Linked DNA regions of Homo sapiens: region 2 is linked to region 1. The links are contacts of gene promoters, found by promoter capture Hi-C in blood cells and fetal thymus (Javierre and others, 2016). All regions are on one chromosome and are shown on one strand. The core of a region is centred on a gene start or on the middle of the fragment in contact, and the rest is flanking DNA. Distances in the headings are between cores, read along the strand shown.

Region 1 (6,882 bases), core at 1,032-3,531:
ATGAAATGAAGCAAAAAATTAGAAATGGTAGCCCAATTTAAATAGAGGATACACAAGAATTATAATGCCTGTCCTTCTTCATATTTATTTTTTAAAACAGGATCTATTAAACTATATTTGTGTGCTATTTGAAGTGACCAGGTATCCTACACAAAAGTGATGAATGAGAAAGAAAGGGAATAATTGCTGGGGCTGAGCCCCTGAAGAGGTGAGCATAGATGGGATGAAGAAGACCCATGGAACGGATCTTTCGATAGGGTTGAGATGATTCTTTACTATTGGACTAAAGAGTGATATATATTTGAGATTGTAAATTTAGTGGTGAGAATTAGAAGTTTTCTTCATTGGGAGAAGTCATGCCCTTCTTTAGGATGACCCTAGAGGGGGTGTGATCAGCTGTGTTATCACTGGTTCCAAGTAAATGGCTCCTGTCCTAGGACCACACTCACCATTGCGCTTTCCTGCAAGACGATTCATGAGATAGGATTTTCCTGTGCGGTATAGCCCTACAATGGCCACCACCACCACGGGCTGAGAAATCTTGTCAAGAATCTCTAATGCCTTTGAATTCACTGTCAGCTGCTCTTCCTGGTTTTCCACTAGACAAATGGGGGCCATCATGATGGATTCAGATTCTGGATAACCTGTAACCCAGAAAAAAATACTCAGTAGAATACAAGATCTTGAAGTCATCCCTAAGGGCTACCTAAGGCACATACATATTAGCTTTTTGCTTGTGGAATGGTATATAAAATTTCTACATTTTAATGGTATATAAATATATTTCTACGTTTAATGGTATATAAAATTTCTATGTATATAAAATTTGTACATTTCAAATGGAAAAATATTTAGTTTAGCATGTCAAAGACTAGTACAGATCTGTTATGTACATTATTTATGATTCTTACAAGAACGCTAAAAATGCCTTGTCAAGGTGATGCATAAAATAAACAGAATTAGAAAATCAAGGCACTGATGGCAGAATAATTCCACTCCTGGAATAAATAGGGGCAGGATGTTACAAAAAGGAGATGAGGAGTGGTTAGAAAAGGCTCCAGGCATTCCAGAAGAATTTGCTCTCTCATTAATTTAATAAAGAGTATTGCGTACCTACCATGTGCTAATTAACACCGTTCTAGATTCTCAGCAACAAGCAAGGAACATAATTGATACAAACTTCTGCCTCTTGGAGCTCTATTTGTTGTAACCCAGCGAGTTACAGAGAAACGCCACACTCTGAGACGAATTCAGGAGTCCTTTATTAGCCGGCGACCGAGAGACGGCTAGTGCTCAAAATTCTCTCGGCCCGAAGAAGGGGCTAGATTTTCTTCTATACTTTGGTTTAGAAAGGAGAGGTTGGGGGGAGGGGTCTAGTTAAAACAATCCTACAGAAGTAAAGTAGGCAAAAAGTTAAAAGGATAAATGGTTACAGGAAAGTAAACAGTACTAGGTGCAGGGGCTTTAATTCTATCACAAGGTGATAGAAGCGGGGCTTTGGGCTTTATCAACCAGACACAAACGCGGGGGGCTCTGGGTGCTGTTAACCGGGCGAATTCCTGGGAACTGCGGGTATGGCTTGCCACAGTACCTTATCAGTTAATTGCATTCTTGGATGTGCTGGGAGTCAGCTTGCACAAGTTAAGTCCCTGAGGAAGCGGGTGGGTAAGGGGCTGCAAGTGAAGGAGCCGAGATGCAGACTGTCTGGCTCTTTCAGCTAAGGGAGAGTCAACTCAGGTTAAAACAAGGTAGGGTATCACATATTCTAGTGGGGGACAGAAAATTAATAAAACAAACAAGCAAAAAATGTGTATATGTATACTAGATGATGGTATTTCGCAGGAGAAAATGCCACAGCTCTGGGAGGAAGCCCGAGGAGGAGCAGCGCATCCTGGAGACACCGGTGCGCCTCTGGTCGCCGCCTGTGGACCGTCTAGAGACGCTGGGCCACACGGAGCAAAGCACTCAGGGGTTCAAGCAGCATCAGACTTCCCCGCGAGGTTCCTCCACTGCCTTTGTCACCCGCCAGTGTGAAGTCTCCAACCCTCCCCGTGTGCAGTCTGCGCTTGGGAATTTGTTGTTGTTTGTTATAACCCAAATATACTTGAAAGGTAAAGCTTAAGAGCAAACTTACCTGGTGTGGGCACTGCAGCGTGAAGAGTTCTCTCACCCATTGCTCTGTCCTCCTGCGCCTGGATCCTCGAGAAACGGACTGTTCTTAGAAGCTGAAAGTCCAGCCGGATTTACAGACATCCAAGTAAGAGTCTGTGAGAACCGAAATTGAAAGGACATGCACTTTGTGGGGAGTTGACTGTTGGGGATTTTCCTGTTTATCAAGACAGGAAACTAAAGGAGCTTGAAAGTGCTGGTTCCTCCACACCAGACTCCTGAAACTCAGGTTTGTTTGTCCCTCTTCCACCCTTAGCTTAGGTATCTTTCGCCTCCAAAATGAATATAGAGCAGCAGACATGAATGTTGTTTCATCTACCTGTCTCTCAGGGGTAATTTTGTCAGGGAAGAAATTTGAGTTTTTGTTTGCTTTTATTTTTTTTTACATGCTTATATGTTTCTGTTTCTCATCTCTTTTCTTTATTTTTTCATTAACCATAAAATATGTGTGTGTTTGTGTGTGTGTCTATGGATATCTATGTATCCTCTAACGTTGTTGCCCAGAGGTGCGGTGGTGGCAAGTAAATACTTCTCTTTCAAAACACAAACATCTCATTGAAACTGGATCTTTTGGAGGACAGGAGGATGATTGGACCATAAAAAGCATAATTTATAATTAGGAGTCTTACCCAGGCTACCAGAAAAATGGACTCAGTTCCTAAAATGACTAGCCAGTTTGTTAACAGAGTTTGGGAAATCTATCTGAAATAAATGGGTAATGATTCCCCATTTGTGCCTATCCCTTAGATCTTCCTATTTGTTTAGTAATGTCTGATTAAACATTTGCAAATTAATAAGTACAAAATTTTAGGCACTTAATCAGGTAAAATTACTGGTGCCGATTTTGATTCAAAACTTAACATTTATTTCCTATAAGCAATATTGAAAGTGAAAATAAAGCTAAGTCAAGTTTTAAATAGGACCAGTAATAAGAAATCAGGTGCTTTTTTCTCTTACCATTTTTTAATGTCAGGAAGTCCCTCTCTCTTAAAAAAAAAAAAAAAGAAGAAGAAGAAAAAGTACAGGGATGACTGAATCCAGGTAAATGTGTTTGAAACACCTGAATTTCACCAGTGGCACCCCTTTCCAGATAATCCAATGTTACTGACTTCAGATAATCATGGAAATGTTAATCAAGAAGAAATTTAGGCTGGGTGTGGTGGCTCACTCCTGCAATCCAACCATTTTGGGAGGCCAAGGTGGGCAGATCACTTGAGTCCAGGAATTGGAAACCAGCCTGGGCAATATGGGGAAACCCCATCTCTACAAATAATAATAATAATAAATTAGCTGGGCATAATGGCATGTGCCTGTTATAATAGTCCTAGTTACCTGGGAGTCTGAGGTGGGAGGATGACCTGAGCCCAGGAGGTCAAGGCTGCAATGAGCCATGGTGGTCCCACTGCACTCCAACCTGGGCAACAGAGTGAGATACTGTCTCAAAAAAAATTGTTAATTCACAGTTGTATGTATAATGATTGCACATAGCAATATGTCTATGCACATAGAAAATATACATAGCAATATGTCTGTGTTACACAGATAAAAGTCTATAAGTGTTCCCCCAACCACTACCTCCTTAAAATTAGTACTTCTAGCTCAGGTGATTTTTTTAAAATGTCTTTCTGAATTATATGAATTTTTAAAGACTTTTTTTATAATCACAGATATGCACACACATACTCATAAAAAGGAAATAACTTTTATTTTGATAAAAAGACTCTGAACATTTTTTGAATATTTTTCCATATCAGATTTTGAGCTTCTTATTTATACATTTTTTGAATATTTAAAGTGCAATGTCTATATGTTTTTGTATTTTGTGGTTAACTTGTAATTCATTTACAAGATGTATCAAATAAAACAGTTTTTTGAAATGAGGGTGTTTTACTGGCTCACTGATTTTGGAAGGAAACTGGAGGAAATGAGTTGCAGATGTTTTTAATCTCACTGAGCAAGGCAAGGAGACAGAAAGTTATGACGTTAGTAGATCATACAGGGCAAGTGATAATGTTATCTGTGTGTACTTACTTTAATATAGTTCAGAATAGTCACTGTCGTGTGTGTGTCTGTGTTTTTACAAATTGACATTCTGGAGGTAGTGATAAGCATATGAATGGCCCAATCTGGAATGATCTCCTGAAGAAGAGGTACCCTGTTCTGTGTCAACACCAAATTCTTATCAACTGGCATAAAGGATGTAGAAGTAATAATAACACCATTGTTGTTTAACAGAGGTGATTGGCTCAAAAAATAAGCATGAAGAAGTGTCTTTGTCTGTTTGGGCGTCTATAAAAAATAAGTAAATTGGGTAAGTTATACACAACAGAAATTTACTTCTCACATTCTTGAAGGCTGAGAAACACACGATCGAGGCATGGGTAGATTGGGGGTCTGATAAGGGTATGCTTCCTGGTTCATGGTTGGTGGCCCCTTGATGTGTACTCACATGGTGAAGGGCAAGGCAGGTCTCTGGAGTCTCATTTATAAGGGCACTAGTCTCACCAGTTTCATTCTCATGACCTAAGTTCATTCTCACTTCCTAAATGACCCACTGTCTAATACTATCACACTGGTGATTAGGTGTCAACATTGGTGATTAGGTGTCAATATACTTTGGGGTGATGGGGAGGTGCAAACATTCAGACCACAGTAAGAATGAATAAAATCAGACAAGCCTCCAGGCCTATGCCATCTGTGCAGTGTTCCAGTTGAAGAGCCCTGCTTTTCACACTCCATAGAGGATTTTGCCACTTGGTCTAACTTCAAGGCCAGTCACAGAGCCTCACCATATTCAACTTGGAATGAACTCTGGCTTCAAAGGAGCAGCGTCCATAGGCTAAGAACACATTACATGACTATTTGCAGCTACTTGCTATTGAATTTTTGACACAATTTAATCCAGGATTTTTTTAGTGTCATGTAACTGAAACAAAAATGGTATCAAGTATTGGGGGATGGGGATTTATGACTTCTCTGAGTTCTAACCACAAGGGGCATTTCACACTTTTAAAAATGATTCTATAACGCTTCACATTACTATTTAATTACTGATCAAAGCCAATCTACTCAGTAGTACCCAGGAACAACACATTTTCTTTGAAATTAAACAAAAGAGAGTATATTAGAAAGATGAACTAAAGCATTCAAATGAAAATGTGGGGCTCGTCGTTAAAAAAATCATCAAGAAATTCAATATAATAATTTCAAATCAAGCATTGACTTTTCTGAGGCTATGGTACTACATGACTGCATAATTTGCTTATCCATGAAGACAGAGCTATACATAAGATTTTTTTTTCTGAAAAACACTCTTTTCTCTCTTTTCCCTCTTTCCTTTTCTCTTTTCCTCTTTTTCCTTCTTTCATTTGCAATAATGCCAAAGATCTGTTGTTAGTTTTGATTTAGACTCAGAGTAATGTAAAATTAGGAGAAATCACACATTGCCCTTAATACTGTGAAGATCGAATACCTAAAATTATCTTATTTACACTATTTTACATAGGTTAAGTTCATGCTTTCAGAGAAGTCAGTGAAGAGTTAATCTCCAAAGCCCTTGGAGTTGGAACAAAACCTTTATGATGATCCTGATGTAGCTGAAGCTTTTATGGAGATTATTTAAATACATAACTTCACTGAAACCCTGTTTTCCGAGGCTTATGTTTCCAAATCGATCACTCTCGTGTGCTTTAACTGATAGCTCCCGGTGATTCCACTAGTTACGGTCCAGATGTTATTTCCTCCAAGAGACTTTATTTGGTTTATACAACTGAACTAGATCCCTACTTCTCTGCATCTATGGCACCCTGTTCTGATCACACTGTATGTGTGGTCTCCCTAATGAGGCTTTAGGCTTTTATCTTGTTTACTGCCCTTTTATAGTATTTAGCACAGAGCCCTGGAATTCAGCTGCTCAATAAATATTTATTAATTCTATTGTTCACCCCAGTGTTAAAATAAGATCTTATCTTAATATTCCAAAGTATTTGAGCTTACCAAGGAGAAAAGTTCAGGGAAACAGAACTTAATCTCATTCTTCATGATTCATATTCACATTTTGCAGAAATATTACAGATAAGCTGAATCAAGGTAGCCAATTAAATGTTGAGAATCAAGAGTAAAGAAGATTTCTTCATGACTCTGCCTTAACCTTCCTGCATAACCCAGACCCTCAGTGTGGTTCTGCTTGGAGAGAGTCCTACATCCAGAACCCTGGGTTCCAGACCTCATAGCAGAACCCACACAGAAGCCTGCTAAGGAAGAAGACAAAGCAACAGTACAGTGACAGCAGATAGGACAGGCAGTCCCAGGTATAAATTTGGTTGTAGGAATTGGAAATTATTTTATAGAGAAGAGTTGGTCTCTTTCTTATAATAACCTTAGAGTTGGTGTGATCAGGTGCATTATTATGATTCCGAACTAATGGTCTCTGTCTCAAGACCAGACTCACTATGGTTCTATGCTGCAAGATGATTCATCAGGTAGGATTTCCCTACACACTGTAGCCTTACAATAGTCACCATCACCACAGGCTGAAATATCTTGTAAATAATCTTTACTGTGTCAGATTAACCATCAGCTGCTCTCTCTGGTTTTCCACTAGACAAACAGGGGCCATGGTAAGCTGCAATCAGAAGAGTCTCTCAGTGGATAAGATTCCAAAGTCATTTCTAATGGTTGTCAAGGCATGAGCATATCAGCTTCCTGCTTGTG
Region 2 (7,678 bases), core at 1-2,500, 560 kb after region 1:
TGATTACCACGAACTGAGAAATCTCTGCAATTAGCAGGAGTGTAACTGGAAAACCAAGGGCTCCTCTGTGCCTTACCAAAAGACATTCCCTCTTCCTCTGGCAAGTTGAAGAAGATAATTTGGCCAGCCTAGGAGGAAGTGATTGATTGAGACAGAAATGGTGGAGAGAAGGATGACTGTGATTTTTACTTTGGTGATGGGCATGAACATAACAAAGAACAGATGGTGGATGCCTTAGTCCCACTGGTGTTATCAATTCCGTAGCCCTGAGCCCTGCCCTGCTACAGGCTTATGTAATTCTCAAGCATGTGCTCTCATGGCCCAAGGGGAGACTATGCAGCACAGACCCTCCAGCTGCGAGGTTAACTCATCAATGCTCCACCCTTGTCATCTTTGGGTTCCAGCACTCAGGCCCTGGATATGCCTCTCACCAGAAGTGAACACTTGGTGGGGGCTGCAATAGACCCAATGAACACATCAGCTGCAGTTTGCATCTAAAAGAAATGATTCCAATGTAACATGACAGGGGACATATGAGACGATGAGTAAACAATAGAGAATAAAAATAATGGAGGAAGAGTTGAGGAAAAGGTCTCCTTTGGGCTAGGATAAAGTCATTTCCTTAGCCAGATCTAAGGGTTTAACTCTTAATTTGGAGGCACCAAGAAGTTACAACACAGTGCTACTTGAAGCTTATTTTATAGATAACATACTTAACTGTTAACAGATTCAGTTAGCTGTTTACAGTTTAGTTAACTGGATATAGTTCTCAACCCACATGGGGTCAGTCATTTTCAACAAATCTTTTTATTTTCTCTATAGAATTCAGAGTTCAAGAGCTCCTTAAAGGATACACAAAACTGTCATCAGTAGTTAAGATTTCGGTGGTCTGGGGGTGAATTCCAGGTAAGTAGTCCCTCTTATCAAATGTCTCTTTAACAATGCTTGCAGCTATCTTGATGTGACAACCATCACAAAAGCAAATATTAATCAGATCACTAAAGGGACACAAATAACCGACACTAGCCAAGAAAGAATTCAAATATATTTTTGAACTAGTTTGGGGCCAACTTTTGTGTGAGAAGAGGAATTGAGTTCACTTCATCTGGTGTTAACTGAAATAAGAGTTAATGTGCCAAATATCTTCATCAGTGACTAAAACTAAGACCACAGATTAGAGTGCCAAAGGGTGTAACTAGAAGGAAGTGTCAGCATTGCAGAAAAGAATGCAAAACCAGGAGGATCTCATGTGAAGGGCTGGCTGCCTAATGGATAAGAAATATGGCCAGAACACAAGGAAGGAGACTGGCGAGTAATAAAGCTGAATTTAAAGGCTCTCAACAAAGCCACCTTCTCTTGCAGGATTACCACTCCTCCTGCTGCTCTCAGGACAATTCCTGAGCGCGCTGGTGAGAGGCTATGTTCAATCATCCCCAGGGTCCTTCAGCTCTTCCTTCCCTGTTGAAGTAGAAATGAAGATCAATTTTACTTAAGTAAACATTTGGTTCTCACAGCCATAAGAGAGAAAGTTCGGTTCTCAGAGAAGTACGTACAACTTACTTCTCTTAAGACAGCTCCGTTTTCCTAAAGACAGTTTATGAACCCCCAAGAACCTACAATGTTCCCTGGAGCCAGTTTAAAGTGTTGAGTCCTCTCTGGTTCTAGGATTCTAGAAGGATCAAAGTTTATTAACAAATCATATAGCAACTACGACTGCCCAACTTTTCCACACAGTTTCTTCTCCGTAACCAGATCATGTTAATGTAATTACTATCAAAATTTAAATAAGTTTTTTTCATAGACATAGACAAGCTTACTCTAAAATTTATATGGAAAGGGAAAGACCCAAGAATTGCAAAAAACAAAAAAAAAAAAAAAAAAAAAAAAACTTTAAAAACAAGAATAAAGTGGGAAGAATCACGCTTCCAAATGTTAAGGCCCTATATATAAGTGCTGTATCCAAACAGTATGGTATTGGTAGAGGGAACAGGCAAAGCAATCAATCAGTGGAACAGAATAGAGAACACAGATATAGACCCACTCAAAATTCCCATTAATTTTAGACAAAGAAGTAAAAGCAATGCAATAGAGGAGAAACAGCCTTTTCAATAAATGGTGCTGGAGCAATTGGACCTAAACCAATACCAAAATTAACTCAAAATGGATAATTGACTAAAACATAAACATACAACTATATAAGAGAAAAATCTTTGGGGTGTAGGACTAAGCAAAGTTCTTAGACTTGACACCAAAAGCATGAGCCATAAGAAGAAAAATTTATAAATTGGATCTCATCAAAATTAAAAACTTCTGTGAAAGACCTTGGACAAAGGATCAAAAGACAAATTACAGACAGGAAGAAAATATTTAGAAATTACATCTCTAAGAAAGGTCTTGAGTCTAAAATATATAAATAACTCTCAAAATTAAGAAAAGGACTGCTTTTGTTTGAATGTTTGTGTCTCTCCAAAACTCATATGTTGAGATCTAAACCCCAAGGTGATGGTATTAAGAGGTGGGACCTTTGGGAGGTGATTAGGTCATGAAATGGAGGGCTCATGAGTGAGAACAGTGCCCTTATAAAGGAGCCCAAGGGAGCTTATCTTCCCTTTTCACTTAGTGAGGACGCAGGGGAAAAGAACTGTTCTAGGAAACAGGAAGTGAGCACTCACCAGAAACCAAATCCAATCTTGGACTTCCAGCCTCCAGAACTGTGAGAATTAAATTGCTGTTGTTTATAAGTCATCCAGTTTACAGTGTTTTGTTATAGCAGCCTGAGCAAGCCAGACAAGGGCCCAAGGCCTCCATCAGCACCACGTTTTATGATATGTGTTCTGTGAACCATCTGACTTCGGATCTTAGAGGAGGAGGTAGCAGAGGGATTGGTAAAATGCCGATTCCCATGGACTGCTCCAGAAATTCTGATTCCATAGATTTGGGCAGGACCTGAGAAATCTGCATTTAAAACAAACTCCTTGAGAGACTTTTTTTATTATTATTAAAGTTTGAGAACTCCCACCATGGCCCAATCTACCAAATTATAAAGGAAGAGCATGCTGGGCATGGTGGCTCATGCCTGTAATCCCAGCACTTTAGGAGGCTGAGGCGGGTAGATCACTTGAGATCAGGAGTTCGAGACCAGCCTGGCCAACATCGTGAAACCCCATCTCTACTAATAATACAAAAATTAGCTGGGTGTGGTGGTACGCGCCTATAATCCCAGCTGCTTGGGAAGCTGAGGCAGGAGAATTGCTTGAACCCAGGAGGCAGAGCTTGCAGTGAGCTGAGATCGCACCACTGCACTCCAGCCTGGGCAACAGAGTGAGAGTCCATCTCAAACAAACAAACAAAAAAGAAGAGCAGCATTAGAAAGAAAACCTGTACTGGGACAGTTGTGCCCTAAAGGGGCAAGCAAAAAGAAAGGGAATAAAGACTAGCAACAACCCAGAAGTGCTGTGAACAACAGTTTCTAAGAAGTGACCATTCTCTGTATTTATTAGGATGTGAAAGAAATGAAGTTCCCTCTCTCACACACACATTCGAGAATACAAGTCTGAGGAGAACCTGCTCTGGGTGAAGAATTTTTTTTATAATTCTCATATTCATGCTCAAGGAGCATGCACTCCTAGGCATATATTCACAAGGGGCTATGAGAGCCCTGGAGAGACCAGGTACTCTGAGGGTAGGACACATACTTTAGCAACTTGGGGGACACATTCTCAAGCTGAAATGGTGTCTCTGGAGCCCATACGAGTTGTGCCTGTGGGGGCCCCACAGACAGGGACCCTTGGCATTGCTGATAATTGAAGGGTCTGCCACAGAGGTCTCTAACATGACTTTCTACCACCATCTTTCCTGCTCACTTGCACATCAATAGACACACAGGTATATTGAGCAGCAGCTCTTCCTCACCTTGTCATCAAACAGTCTGTTTCTGCCTTCACCATTTTGCATCTGACCTTTCACAGGTAGCAAGAGAAGAGTCTAAGGAGCAGCAGGCAACGTGCTGAAGTGCAGAGCCAGGTCAAGGCTGGGTTTGTCTGAGCAGCTGGTGAGTAAGAGAGCTGTGACCAGGGCTCTGAGAAATATGGACAGGGGCCAGCCTGACAAAGACAACAAAGAACTGCCCAGGGGAAGGTGAAGAAGGTAACTGTCAACCCTTCAAAAAGTGAAATGGCGTTAGTAAGATGAAGGCCAGCCCATAAGAGATGCCAGCCAAGATGGAATAATGCGCAGATTTTCATCTAAGGGTGGGAATGACCTGTCGGCCTGATCCAGGCACACTGGCTTCTGAGATTCCCTTCCTAGCCCTGCCCACACACCCCCCACCCGACGCCCTTTCCCCAGCCTAGGTCCCTGAGTTTCTCATTCGTTGCTCACTTGTGTCTATTGTATGTCTTCTTCGTCAAAATCGAGCAGGGACTAATTAGCGGTGAAAGCAGAGACTCCAGCTCATTTCCGTTCACCTCATTATTTGTTTCTCTTTTGGGCTGAAGCCAAACAACAATCAAACATTAACATTCCCCCTGCAGAGCGGGCACACGGACACATGGGAGCATGTTACACACACCACACCCTCACAGCGTGCACACATGCACATGCACACACACACACCTGCTCCACTGCTATTCGGCTGTGCGAGGTCTCTGCGGCCCCGCTGTCTCCGGGCATCTAGGGTAACATCTCTTTCCATTTCAGACCTGGGACTGGTCTGAAACTGTATAATGGAATGGCCCTGGGCAAGCAGGGAAAGGACGTTGGGAATTTCCGGAAGCACAATCCCCCTGGCCAGCACTGGTGTTAATTAAGGGCGCTGCTGGTGTTTTGCAGGCAGCTGTTTCCTCCTCCGGCCCTCCTGTTCCCCGGGCCGCCTGGGCACCGGCGCCTGCACTCTGGCATTCATTGCTCTACCGTAAGCCTTGTTTCTAGCCGTTTTCAATCAAGTGGGAGACTGTCCAAATTTCCGTCTCAATGAAAATCAACTGTTCTAAATCTAAGCTCCCATTAAGCGTTCCAGGGGCTGGCCTGACTTGGAATTTAAGCAGCAGCGCAGCCCTCCCTGGAGTGAGCGGCGGCCGGGGCTCCAGATAAGGCGGGCCTGCCTCCTAGTGGCCAAGGTGCTGCAGGGCAGCTCTGAGGGCTGGAGGGCTGCGCAGCCGCCACCCGAGGACACGGGGAGGAGGCACAGTAAGAGAATCCTTAGAGCCTAACGCCCCCTTCTCCGTCGCTCTCGAGCCGCTCCAGTCCCCAAGTCCCATCCCCTTTCCTTCCCCGACATCTCTCCTCGTTGCCTCACTCTGGCTCCGTCGAACTGCAGTGGTCTGTTAGCTGGACTCTATCTCCAGCTTCTGTATCGAATCCATGCACCTCGCTGCCAATTCGTCTTCCGGACGCTCGTTGTCAGTCCTCTGTGATCTCTAATTAAGGCTCTGCTGAGTCTCCTCTTTATCTATAGGGAGAATCCTCAAGCGGGGAGACACACCCTTCCTGCAGAGGCGTATCGCCAGCCACGACAAGGCGAGCCGCGTTTCTCCCCACACTCCCCAAAAAGGCGATGACCCTCCCCAGGCCGCGCTCACGCTGAACCCCTGTTGCTGAGCTGCAGTTCCTGGAGGTGTCCTGTCCTCAAATGTGGGGATGCGGGGAAAAGATTAAGAAGGTAAAAGTTCAAACCAGGCAAAAGTTCAAACCTCTTGGCACTCCACAATGTGGCCTCAAGCTTCCCTTCTAGCTTTAGTGCTAGAGTAGAATGAAATGAAGGGTTGGAATGCCAGGTGTGCTACGTTTTAGTCATGGAACTGTATGAAAGGTTCTAAATTCTAAATGTCTTTACAGGGTTGTCATGGAGACTAAAAGAGGTCGCCGGAGTATCAAATTTAGCACAATGCTTGCCACATAGTGAATGTTCAATAAATGGCAGCTGTCATTTTCCTTCCCCCGTTAGAAAGACAACTGGTTTGCTCACAGTTCTGATACCGGCCTTGAACTGAACTTTCCATCTCTGCACCTCGGCTTTTGACACCCTATTTGCCTGGAGCGTCCACTATCACCACTTTGGTTAAAGCTACTGTCACCTCCTGCAATAGACTAATTCATCTCCCTGCTCCTGCCCACAGTTATTTTTAATCTAGCCACCAGAATTTTTTTAAGTGTAAATCAGATTATGTCACTCATCTGCTCAAACCCCTATTGTAGCTCCCTATTTCACTCGGTGTAAAAGCCAAAGCACTCACCATGTCCTGGAGGCCCTACATGATCTGGCTCTTTTCCCCCTTCATGTTATTTCCCATACCTTTCTCCCTTGTTCACTCTGTTTCTTCCACAATGACCAATTGCTTTTGCTGGAAAGCACCAGCAATTTATTAATAGCCTTTGTGTTGGCTTTTCCCTCTACCTAGAATATTTTCCTCACATACCTGCATAGCTCTTTCGCTTACTTTTTCATGACTTTGTTCAGTTGTCACCTTCAAAAAAAAAAAAAAAAAAAAAAAGCCAGCCAGGCATGGCGGCTCATACCTGTAATCTCAGCACTTTGAGAGGTGAAGGCAGCAGACAGCTTGGGCCCAGGAGTTCCAGACCAGCCTGGGCAACACGGCAAAACCCCATCTCTACAAAAAATACAAAATATATTTTTCGTAGAGGACGGTGGCACACACCTATAGTCCTAGCTACTTGGGAGGCAGGAGGACTGCTTGAGCCTGGGAGGTTGAGGCTGCAGTGTGAGCCATGATCATGCCACTGCACTCCAGCCTGGGCAACAGAGCAAGACCCTGTCAAAAAAACAAATAAATAAAAGCCAATCCTGACCACATATTTAAAATTTCAAACTGCTCTACTTTCCCCCAGTACTTCCAATCCCCTTTATCTTGCCCAACTTCTCCTTTTCCATAGCACATACCATATTCCTTACTACCTTCTAAAATAATATATATAACAAAGCCAACCATTGGCAAATAAATCTCTCATAATTTGCTGATGGGAGTGTAACTTGGTACAACTACTTTGGAAATCTTTTAGAGAGTATCTACTAAAGCTAAAAATACTTTATTTTACTCTTGTATATAAATCCAACAAATTGCAAATCCAACAAAAAGGAGTACTTTTTGTCAGATTTATTTTGGTCGGTTCTGTAAATATAATATGTTATATAATATATAATAAGATATATACTTATATATTAGTCACCTACTCATATAGCTATATAATCATATAATTTATGATCTAATCATATCACATATAATAATCTTAATTACTTTAATCATTTCACTAAACTAGGAACAACCCAAATGTCAATCTACAGTAAAATGAATAAATTTTGATTTTTTTCAAACAATAAGTACACAGCACTAAAAAATAAGTTATTCATGGTATTCATTAACAACATGAATGAGTCCAGAATCTAATATTGAGCAAGAGAAGTTGGAAACCAAAAAGTACCTCCTATATGATTTAATTGATTTGAAGTTCAAGAAAGGCAAGACTTCAATGATAGAAGTCAGAATAGAGCTACTTATTTCTCTAATTGGGATATAACCTAATCTTTCTGAAAACAGGGAGAATATTCATCTTGCAGGACTGCTGTGAAAATTGCAGATAATATATATCTAACATCTAGTACCAAGTTCCTAGCACAGAATATTTGCTAACGAAATTATTGTTTGTATTCATGTGTGTTCTT

What was found. The method cuts DNA at HindIII sites, captures the fragments that hold promoters and counts their contacts. A CHiCAGO score of 5 or more calls a contact.
Region 2: a fragment that was not itself captured here is called in contact with the fragment with the promoter of GBP4 in region 1 in 2 of 17 cell types (non-activated CD4 T cells and naive CD4 T cells); the score reaches 7.8 in non-activated CD4 T cells.

The regions. Positions count from the first base shown.
Region 1 is chr1:89,196,661-89,203,542 of GRCh38, forward strand. GBP4 (guanylate binding protein 4) reads right to left here and starts at 2,282. Exons shown (of 11, transcript NM_052941.5): 1 at 2,135-2,282; 2 at 450-644. The coding sequence starts at 2,174. It overlaps LOC107985076 (a long non-coding RNA gene), which reads left to right and starts at 1,687. Exons shown (of 3, transcript XR_002958332.2): 1 at 1,687-1,748; 2 at 1,843-2,398. RefSeq lists a silencer at 2,086-2,380. The HindIII fragment of the contact is 3,654 bases long and covers 2,116-5,769 here.
Region 2 is chr1:89,758,035-89,765,712 of GRCh38, forward strand. LOC107985743 (a long non-coding RNA gene) reads left to right here. Exons shown (of 3, transcript XR_002958333.2): 3 at 823-904. Among named protein-coding and RNA genes, the nearest start is that of LRRC8D, 59 kb to the right of the region's middle. RefSeq lists an enhancer at 4,700-5,200. The HindIII fragment of the contact is 1,120 bases long and covers 691-1,810 here.